2 separate regions of the Homo sapiens genome follow, and region 1 is linked to region 2. The links are contacts of gene promoters, found by promoter capture Hi-C in human tissues and cell types (Jung and others, 2019). All regions are on one chromosome and are shown on one strand. The core of a region is centred on a gene start or on the middle of the fragment in contact, and the rest is flanking DNA. Distances in the headings are between cores, read along the strand shown.

Region 1 (4,397 bases), core at 1,320-3,819, 47 kb before region 2:
TTCTTCATAGTGATAGTGACAGGAGGCAGACAAATGCCTAAGCAGATAGGGGTGGGTCCCTGGTGAAACCCAACCTTCAAGCTGAAGACAGTCCCAGGTAAATTCTCAGACCAGATCAAAAACCTGTCTTCCCATTTGGTGCACTTTCCTCTGATGGATCCCACCCTTCACCTATTTTACGTATACCTACCCTTCCCTAATTGTTTTTTTTACACTGTCATGCCCATCTTTGAGTGGTACATTTTAGAGTAACCCTGCTTATTCCTGCGAACCAACCAGCAATCTCCAGCTGCAGTTCAGAAGAAACAAAAGGGCTGGGTAATGTAAAAATCTGGATCAATATTCTAGTTCTGGGCAATTATTCTGCAAATCCTGCCAGGTGATAGGAGTAAATTTATTAGATATAAAATCAATATTTCCAAATTGATTAGATTTCTAAAATAGCAGTAGACAGAAAATATAATTTGAAAATATCATTTACAGTAGCAACAAGCTACAACAAATATATCATACAAAGATTAGTAAAACCTCTAAGAGAAAATAAACTTTATTTAGAGCTGTTAAAGAATACCTAAGCCGGCCTGACGCAGTGGCTCATGCCTGTAATCCCAGGACTTTAGGAGGCTGAGGCGGGCAGATCATTTGAGGTCAGGAGTTCGAGACTAGCCTGGCCAACATGGTGAAACCCTCTCTGTACTAAAAATACAAAAATTATCTGGGTGTGGTTGTGCAGGTCTGTAATCCTAGCTACTCAGGAAGCTGAGGCAGGAGAATTGCTTGAACCCAGGAGACAGATGTTGCAGTGAGTTGAGATTGTGCCACTGCACTCCAGCCTGGGTGACAGAGTGAGACTCTTGTCTCAAAAAAAAAAAAAAAAAAAAAAAAAAAGAATACCTAAACTTGGCGCGGTGGCTCACACCTGTAATCCCAGCAGTTTGGGAGGCTGAGGCAGGAGGATTTCTTGAGCCCAGGAGTTCAAGACCAGCTGTGGCAACATAGTGAGACCCTGCTTCTACAAAAAATAAACAAAATCAGCCAAGCATGAAGGCATGTGCCTGTGGTCCCAGCTAGTTGGGAAGCTGAGGTGGAAGGATCATTTGAGCCTGGGAGGTTGAGGCTGCAGTGAGCTGAGCTCATACCACTGTACTCCAGCCTGGGCAACAGAGCAAGACCTTGTCTTAAAAAAAAAGAAAAGTAAGTAAATGAGAAGATATACCATATTCATTGTTAGCTAAAAGTGTAAAGATGTCAGTTCCCCTTAAATTAATCTATAGAACCAATGCTATTACAGGTACAATCCCAAAGAGAATTTGACAAGATGATTCTAAATTTTATGTGGAGGCACAAAGGATTGATAATAGTTAAGGCACTCCTAAAAAAGAACAAGTTGGGAATACCGGATATCCAGACTTATCTTAGACCCTCTAAGAGTAAATATAAGCTTGCCATCCATGTATTCAGATCCTCCAGAATCACACTCCACTTTATCTGTCCTATCTCATCTGCCTGTGCTCCTCAGCATGAAACGTTTGTTCCAGTCTGCTTGATCTCACGGTCTGCTGAATTTGAGCTGTGGCCACCTCCCTTTGCCTTTGCTCTTTCTGTTTTCCTTGCCTTTAATTTACTAACTCCTCCTTTCTATCAACCCCTGGCCTGGCCCTACTCAAATATTACCTCCAATATATTTATATATTTTTGGTTCTCCAGTTTACATAAGTCTCTTTCCTCCAAACTCTTATACCACTTTTTGGTTCTGCTATTTATTCTTCTATTTTTTTCATATATAGCATAGAAAGAGAGGAGAAAAGGGAGAAGGGAACACAGAGCTGGGCATTCAGAATTAGCCATATGTATGCCTGATACAGCTGATTAGGAGCTCTACAGTTTCCCTGAACATGGATCCAAGATCTGACAGAAAGCTTGCCAAGAGCCATTGAACACTCACCGGCTGACTTATATGGGAAGCGTCTTACAGCCTGATAAGATCTTACAGAATCGGTGGCAACCTGAAGTTGTTTTCAGGACATAAGAGCTATTTTTACCTCTCTTCATCTGGTTAACAGTTTGTCCATGAAAACAAAAAGACTAAAAACCCAGACACAACCTGAATGTCCACCAATAGGGGTTCTGGCTACATTACAGAACAACCACAGGCAGCTAGTTAAAAAAAAAGGGAGACAACTCCATGTGACTGACAGGGAATTATCACCAAGAGATAGATAAGAGAAAAAAAAATCAAGGTGCAAAACAACATCACCATGTGTGGCTTTTCTTGTTTGTTTGTTTGTTTAATACTCATGGTTTTGAACCTGCAGAGAGACTTTGGTAATTGTGGGTGCCTAAGAAGAGGGACTGAGGGTTGGAAGTTAAGAGTAGGAGACTGGCTTTCCACTGAATATCCTTTTACAACTTTTGTATTTTGTACCCTGTGTAACTATTGACTACTCAACAAATAAATGTTCAAGAGGAAATAAAAGGAAACAAAGATATTGAAAACAAACCAGCAAATTAGATGGTGTCAAAGGACAGAATTCTGACTTTTGTACTGTATCTTAGAAGACCAAAAGCAATGCCTAGCCAGGACAGCACGGTCCTCATTAAAACTAAGATGACCTTCTATCCTGACTTTCAGCTAAAGTGTGAAGTGGAGGAAGCACAGAGCTAAGCTATAGCTGCAAAATTCAGTACCTTTAAAAAGATACTTGCATCAGAATTATAACTGGGAGAGAATGGGTTGCTTAGCACTGGTTATTCCAGAAAGAGAACCAAATTACAAACCATGCCTGTAATCCCAGCACTTTCGGAGGCTGAGGCAGATGTATCACAACGTCAGGAGTTCGACACCAGCCTGGCCAATATGGCGAAACCCCATCTCTACTAAAAATACAAAAAAAATTAGCTGGGCATGGTGGCACATGCCTGTAATCCCAGCTACTCAGGAGGCCGAGGCAGGAGAATTGAACCCAGGAGGTGGAGGTTGCAGTGAGCCGAGATGGGGCCACTGCACTACAGCCTGGGCGACAGAGAGAGACCCTATCTCAAAAAAAAAAAAAAAGAAAAAGCCAAAAAATAACCCTTTGTAGTTGCAAACCACAAGCTAGTTATTTTTTTTGTTTGTTTGTTTTTTTTGTTGTTGTTGTTGTTTGTTTTTTGTTAATGGCACAATGAAGTCAGGGACTCAGGTTCTTTTTTTTTTTTTTTTTTGAGACAGAGTTTCACTCGTCGCCAGGCTAGAGTGCAGAGGCGCGATCTCAGCTCACCGCAACCTCCACCACCTGGGTTCAAGTGATTCTCCTGCCTCAGCCTCCCGAGTAGCTCGGATTACAGGTGTGCGCCACTACACCCAGCTAATTTTTTAATATTTTTGGTAGAGACGGGGTTTCACCATGTTGGCCAGGCTGGTCTTGAACTCCTGACTTCAAGTGATCTGCCCACCTTGGCCTCCCAAAGTGCTGGGATTACAGGTGTGAGCCACCGCGCCCAGCCCACATGCTAGTTTTTAACCCACTTCCTGCTGGAAGGAGAGAAGAGGTCTGTGACTTCTGCTCAGCTCCACCATGGAGACCAAATCAAGCAGGCTTTGGAACTGCTGCTTCAGGTGAATGGTAACCAGAAACCCAGGGAATTTATAGAAAGGGCAAGGTCAAAGAGCTGAGAAAAAGACTTAAGTCATGGTCAACACCTGCCAATGCAATGGTGTAGGCATGAAAGGGCTTGAAGGCTGAGAAATGCCACTAAACTAAGTGACAATCCCCAGCATCTCCCTTGAAAAGGTATTAATGGGCTTCAAAATAGAAAAACTGTTAGTTTGCTGTGAGGCTTCTTGTTTATTTATTTATTTATTTATCTATCTATTTATTTATTTATTTATTTTTGAGACAGAGTCTCGCTGTGTTGCCCCAGATGGAGTGCAGTGACGTGATCTTGGCTCATTGTAACCTCTGCCTCTGCAGGCGATTCTCCTGCCTCAGCCTCCCGAATAGCTGGGATTATAGGCGTGTGCCACCACACCCAGCTAATTTTTGTATTTTTAGTAGAGATGGGGTTTTGCCATGTTAGCCAGACTGGTCTCAAACTCCTGACCTCAAGTGATCCACCCCTCTCAGCCTCCCAAAGTGCTGAGATTACCGGCGTGAGCCACCGCGCCTGGCTGAAGCTTCTTTACAACTATAAGTAATTAAGTATGGCAGGATGGATGGATAATTTTTGGGATTCAAATGTCAGATTCATAATCATATTGTTCAGCAAGGAAAGGAAAGCAGGTCCACTGATGTGTTCGTGCAAGAATAGCTATTAACAGGGGTCCATGGAACAAGGTCTAGAGGATCTTGGCACTTAAATCAAGATAAGGTTTTTTTATATTAAAAATATTTAATAAAGACATTATCACAACCTCT
Region 2 (4,352 bases), core at 302-2,801:
CCAGAGAAAAATAGGAAACATAAGTTTTGAGTGCAACAGACTGAGCACTGTTTCAAGAGTCTGGCAACCTGGATTCTTTCTCTGGCTCTGTTCCTGCCTTGAGCCATGAAGGAAGGAAAAAATATACATGAGTGCCCACTGTGTCATTTCATGTAGATTTTATTCCAGTTTCCCAACAGTCCTGCAGGAAGCTGGGGTTGAGAGAGTAGATCATTGGCCTACAGACACACAGCCCAGCCTAACAACATAAATTAACCTCTCAACGTTAAATGAAGTAAAATGAAGTTCAGTTCTTAAGTATCTTTAAGTTCCTTTCCTCTCTAACTTCTACTAGTAGAATATTTCTACCAGTAGAAAAAAACAAAAGAAAACCCAAACAACTCTCAACCATGGGCCAAGAGAAACTAAGAAATCGATATTGAAAGGCCAGGAGGGGCAGGAGAAGTGGCTCAGGCCTGTAATCTCAGCACTTTGGGAGGCCGAGGCGGGCGGATCACTTGAGGTCAGGAGTTCCAGACCAGCCTGGCCAACATGGTGAAATCCCTTCTCTACCAAAAAATACAAAAATTAGCCGGGCGTGGTGGCACGCACCTGTAGTCCCAGCTACTCTGGAGGCTGAGGTGGAAGAATCGCTTGAACCCAGGAGGCGGAGTTTGCAGGGAGCCGAGATAGTGCCACTGTACTCCACCCTGGGCGAGAGTGAGACTCCATGTCAAAAAAAAAAAAAAAAAAAAAAAAAAAAAAAAAAAAGACGGGAACGTGTGCAATGTAAAGAAGGCTGGATGAGAAGCCCAGGGAAGTCCTGAGCTAGCTTAGGAGAGATCTTCAGGTGTGGGCGTAGGCATGAGCCGCTGCCTCTCTGTGCCTGTTCCTCATAGGGTCACGGCAGGTGCAGAGCTGGAATTCAAGTCGGCGCTGGGGCTCAGCTGGAGAGGATCCTGGCGGCAAAGCTTGCGAATTACACATATAAATCAGGGAGAGGAAAAGCAAGCGGACTTCCTGCAGCCCTTGGGGGTTGGGAGTGGGGTGCGTTTCCTGCGTCCCTGACCCGGGAAGGACGCTGTTTGGTGGTAGCAAGCACCTAGCCAGAGAGTGGCTGGGCACCTAGCCAGAGAGTAGCTGGTAGGGCGCAGCTGAGGGCTGGAGGGCTTCATCAGAGAACGGCGCTCAGCTAAGGTACCTAGCCAGGAGAGGGTGGAAGTCATTCCCCAATTCCCATCCTTGCGCCCCCCGGCTTAGCCCACGCAGCCTGGACAGAACTGGAGGAGGGGTGCACCTGCAGCTCTCAGCGCCCCGGCTGACCTCGAGGACCCCAGGTTAGGGAGAGCTTCCGAGCGCTCCGACAGGAGCAGGGAGTTGGGGTGGGTAGCTCCGCAGGTGCACGCTGCGGCCCTTAGGGCGACAGCCTCGGAAAAGGCGCATCTCCGGCTGTGGGTTTCTCGGGGGCGGGGCGCAGGGGCGGGGCGGGGCGAGGGGCTCGCAGAGGCCTCGGGTTGGCCGAGCCGGGAGGGAGGAGCATTAGTATTAGCATAGCCCCCGCCCCCTGCGCGCAGCAGTGCCCAGCAACCCGAGCGGAGGCGGCCGCTGCAGCCCGGCGCTGAATGGGCTGGCGGCGCCCGGCTCCGTCCTGCCCGCGGCCGGCCCCCGCGTCTGCTCCCTCCCCGCCCGGGCCCCTGTCGGCCGCCGCCAGTCCCCGCCCCGACTGTGAATGAAAGGCGGGCGCCGCCGAGGGCTGGCTGGGAACGCCGCAGCGACGCCGGCCTCTCGAGAGGCGCGCGCCCCGCCGAGATGTACGGTAAGGAGGGCTCCGCGCCCGGGCCCGGGCCCGCGGGGGCGACTCCGCAAACTTCCCCGGCGCGGACCATTGTCCCCCTGCACGGCCCTGGCGCGGGGCCAGGCCGCTGACCTGGTGCCCGGCGGGGCTGTTGCGGTCGCTCTGTGCGCGCGCGTCTGCGCTGCGAGGACAAAGATGCCTCGGGCCGGGGACCCTGGGGTCCTCTCCAGGCCCGGCGCGTGCCGGTGCTGGGCGGTGGTCCTTCGGGGGGCGGAGGCTCAGGGGAAAGCGGGTCTCCCGGAGCCGAGCAGACCGGGAGTGCTGGAGGAGGTGGTCGTGTGGCAGCATTTGCGGAATTAACAAAAGCGGTTTGTGCCTGGGAGTTTTCTGTGGGAAGCCGGTCCAGGGCTGAGGGAGACGCCCGCGGCCGGTCGTCTGCGCGGCTCGGAGAAGGCGGGAGGCGGCGCCGGCGGCGCAGAGGCCCGGGGAGCAGCCAGTGGCCGAGTCTCGTCTCGCCCGCCTGAATGGACTCGGCCTCTGCCTGCCCCTGCCGCCCCGCGGGATCCAGGTTCACCAACTTCCAGATTTTCCCTCCGCAGTGATGAAGGGAGGAGACGCTGCTGAGAGGGTGCAGCACAGCCCTGACCTCTCCCCGCCTCCACCGCCATCCCCTCAACTGCCGTGCAACAGTTAGCCAGACCCTCACGATGCACGGCTCTGCTTGATCATTTGCTAGGACTCCCTCTGGTTTTGCAGGCAGTGTGGGTGAAGAAGAGAGAGCGCGTTGGGTCCCACATTGCAGCTCTGATGAATGGAGCACTGGAGACCTAGACCAGTCTAGGAATGGACTGCATTCCTGAGCCTGCAGCCCACCAAGGGCTGTGCGTGTGTGTGTGATCCCGGTAGACATAAGTCCATGAAAACCCAGGTCTCTGGCAGCTCTTCTAGTGCCAGCAAAATAATTGGAGCTGTGCTCACCTCCCACCCCCACTGCAAGGTAGGGGCTCAGGCTGCACTTGAGGGGTCAGTGTTTGGAGAAGAGTGCGTTCCCAATTTAACCCATCACTGAGGCTGCTCGGCTGCTCAGCTGCCTCGCTCCGCGAACAGACTGTGAGTCACAAAGTTTGTTAGAGGCAGAGGAAGCTGAGAGCCTGGTGGAAAGGCTCAGCAATTGGTGGGCCCCCCTACTGAGAGAGAGAGAGAGACTGACTCAACTTTTTCATCGGTCTCCTTCCCTGCCCAGTTGCTCAGAAATACGTTTGCATTTCTGATCCAGGGTGAGACATCAGCAGGTCCCCTCAGCAAGTACCATTTCTCTTGGACCAAGTGGGAGGAGGGGGAGGTTGGCCTGAGAGGCTGTGCTGCTGACCACTGGGGACTCTGGGGAAAGGTAAAAAGGCGGTTATGCTTTATAAGCCAGAGGTTGTGATATGTATGTATATATATAGGAGTATGTGTGTATTTTTTTACTCTCTCTGTTTTCCCCCTCTTCTTTTCTGCAGAGGTAGCAGCCTGAAGCTGCAGATCATTTGACAAAAGCATGTGACTGCAGGGGCACCTGCAGTGGGGAAGGAGTTAGGACAGGCTCATCAGAATGGGTCAGAATTAGGAACTGGGTTCTGCTGGGCTGCCTCATTGCATTTAGTCCAAGATAATTTGGTCGTTTACCCGAGATATCTGAAGGTGGGGGTCCCAGGCTGCCTCTGTTGTATGAAGCAAGACAAGGAAGAGCTGGATAGTCAGAAAGGTGAACTGGGGAATCAAAGCATCTGGGTGCTATTTTCAGACACATCTCAGGTTTTCATTTCTCTTTTATAATATATTTTTATTTCCCCAGATGCAAACAGATATGGTATTTACCCTGAATGATTCATAGAAAGATTGTAATGGAGGAATCCTCTGGGCAGTTGCCTGCAGCAAAGGAAAGTCACACCAAGCTTGGGTGGGAAATTACTACTGAGTTGCTGGGTGCAGAGTCTGATCTTAGGAGGTGTGGGAGGGAGCCCACTCCCCCTGGTGAGGACTCAACTGCTTGGATTTTCGTATATTCCTGACTTTCATGAAAAGAAAGGGTTCATGTGATATTTAAAATCATTTTCTCACCAGAAGTCAATAGAGTGATGAAAAAAAGTGAGTAAGGAGGTTTGGGGGCGGGGATCACAGAATTATAGACTTCTTATAATTGCAATTTTCCTCTTGTTTTACAAGTTATTTTTCCAGGGTGACAGAGTTAGATGGAACAGGGCACAATGAAAATGGGGGCCTCCTGGCACTGCGCTTCTCCCCCTCCCACCTCCTGACCTCCCCTGTGTGTCCTATAAAGTCTCATTAGAAAAATACCACCAGGGGTTTTATTAACGTGATGGGCAGAGAGGCCCCCCTATGGAGCCGAAAGTCACCTAAGAGCTTTAGGTAAAGGTGTACCTTGTCCACCCACCTTGGTGACTTGTGCCACTATAAATTTGTCTTCCCATCTGTCCAGCTCTGGAGGATCTCCGTTTCCCATCCCTCCCCCTCCTCACCCTGCCTCTGCCCTCCACAGCTCAGCCTTCTTCCTTCTGCTTATGGGAGGCTGGGA

Evidence for each region. Contacts are between HindIII fragments. The study calls those that stand out against the background at their distance.
Region 1: a fragment that was not itself captured here is called in contact with the fragment with the promoter of EFR3B in region 2 in 1 of the 25 tissues and cell types used here (dorsolateral prefrontal cortex).

What each region holds. Positions count from the first base shown.
Region 1 is chr2:24,992,059-24,996,455 of GRCh38, forward strand. All of the region lies in intron 1 of DNAJC27-AS1 (DNAJC27 antisense RNA 1), which reads left to right. Among named protein-coding and RNA genes, the nearest start is that of DNAJC27-AS1, 22 kb to the left of the region's middle. The HindIII fragment of the contact is 3,779 bases long and covers 681-4,397 here.
Region 2 is chr2:25,040,525-25,044,876 of GRCh38, forward strand. EFR3B (EFR3 homolog B) reads left to right here and starts at 1,552. Exons shown (of 23, transcript NM_014971.2): 1 at 1,552-1,795. The coding sequence starts at 1,789. RefSeq lists enhancers at 560-1,509, 1,510-2,458 and silencers at 1,416-2,035, 2,166-2,245, 2,356-2,485, 2,816-2,945. The HindIII fragment of the contact is 5,946 bases long and covers 1-4,352 here.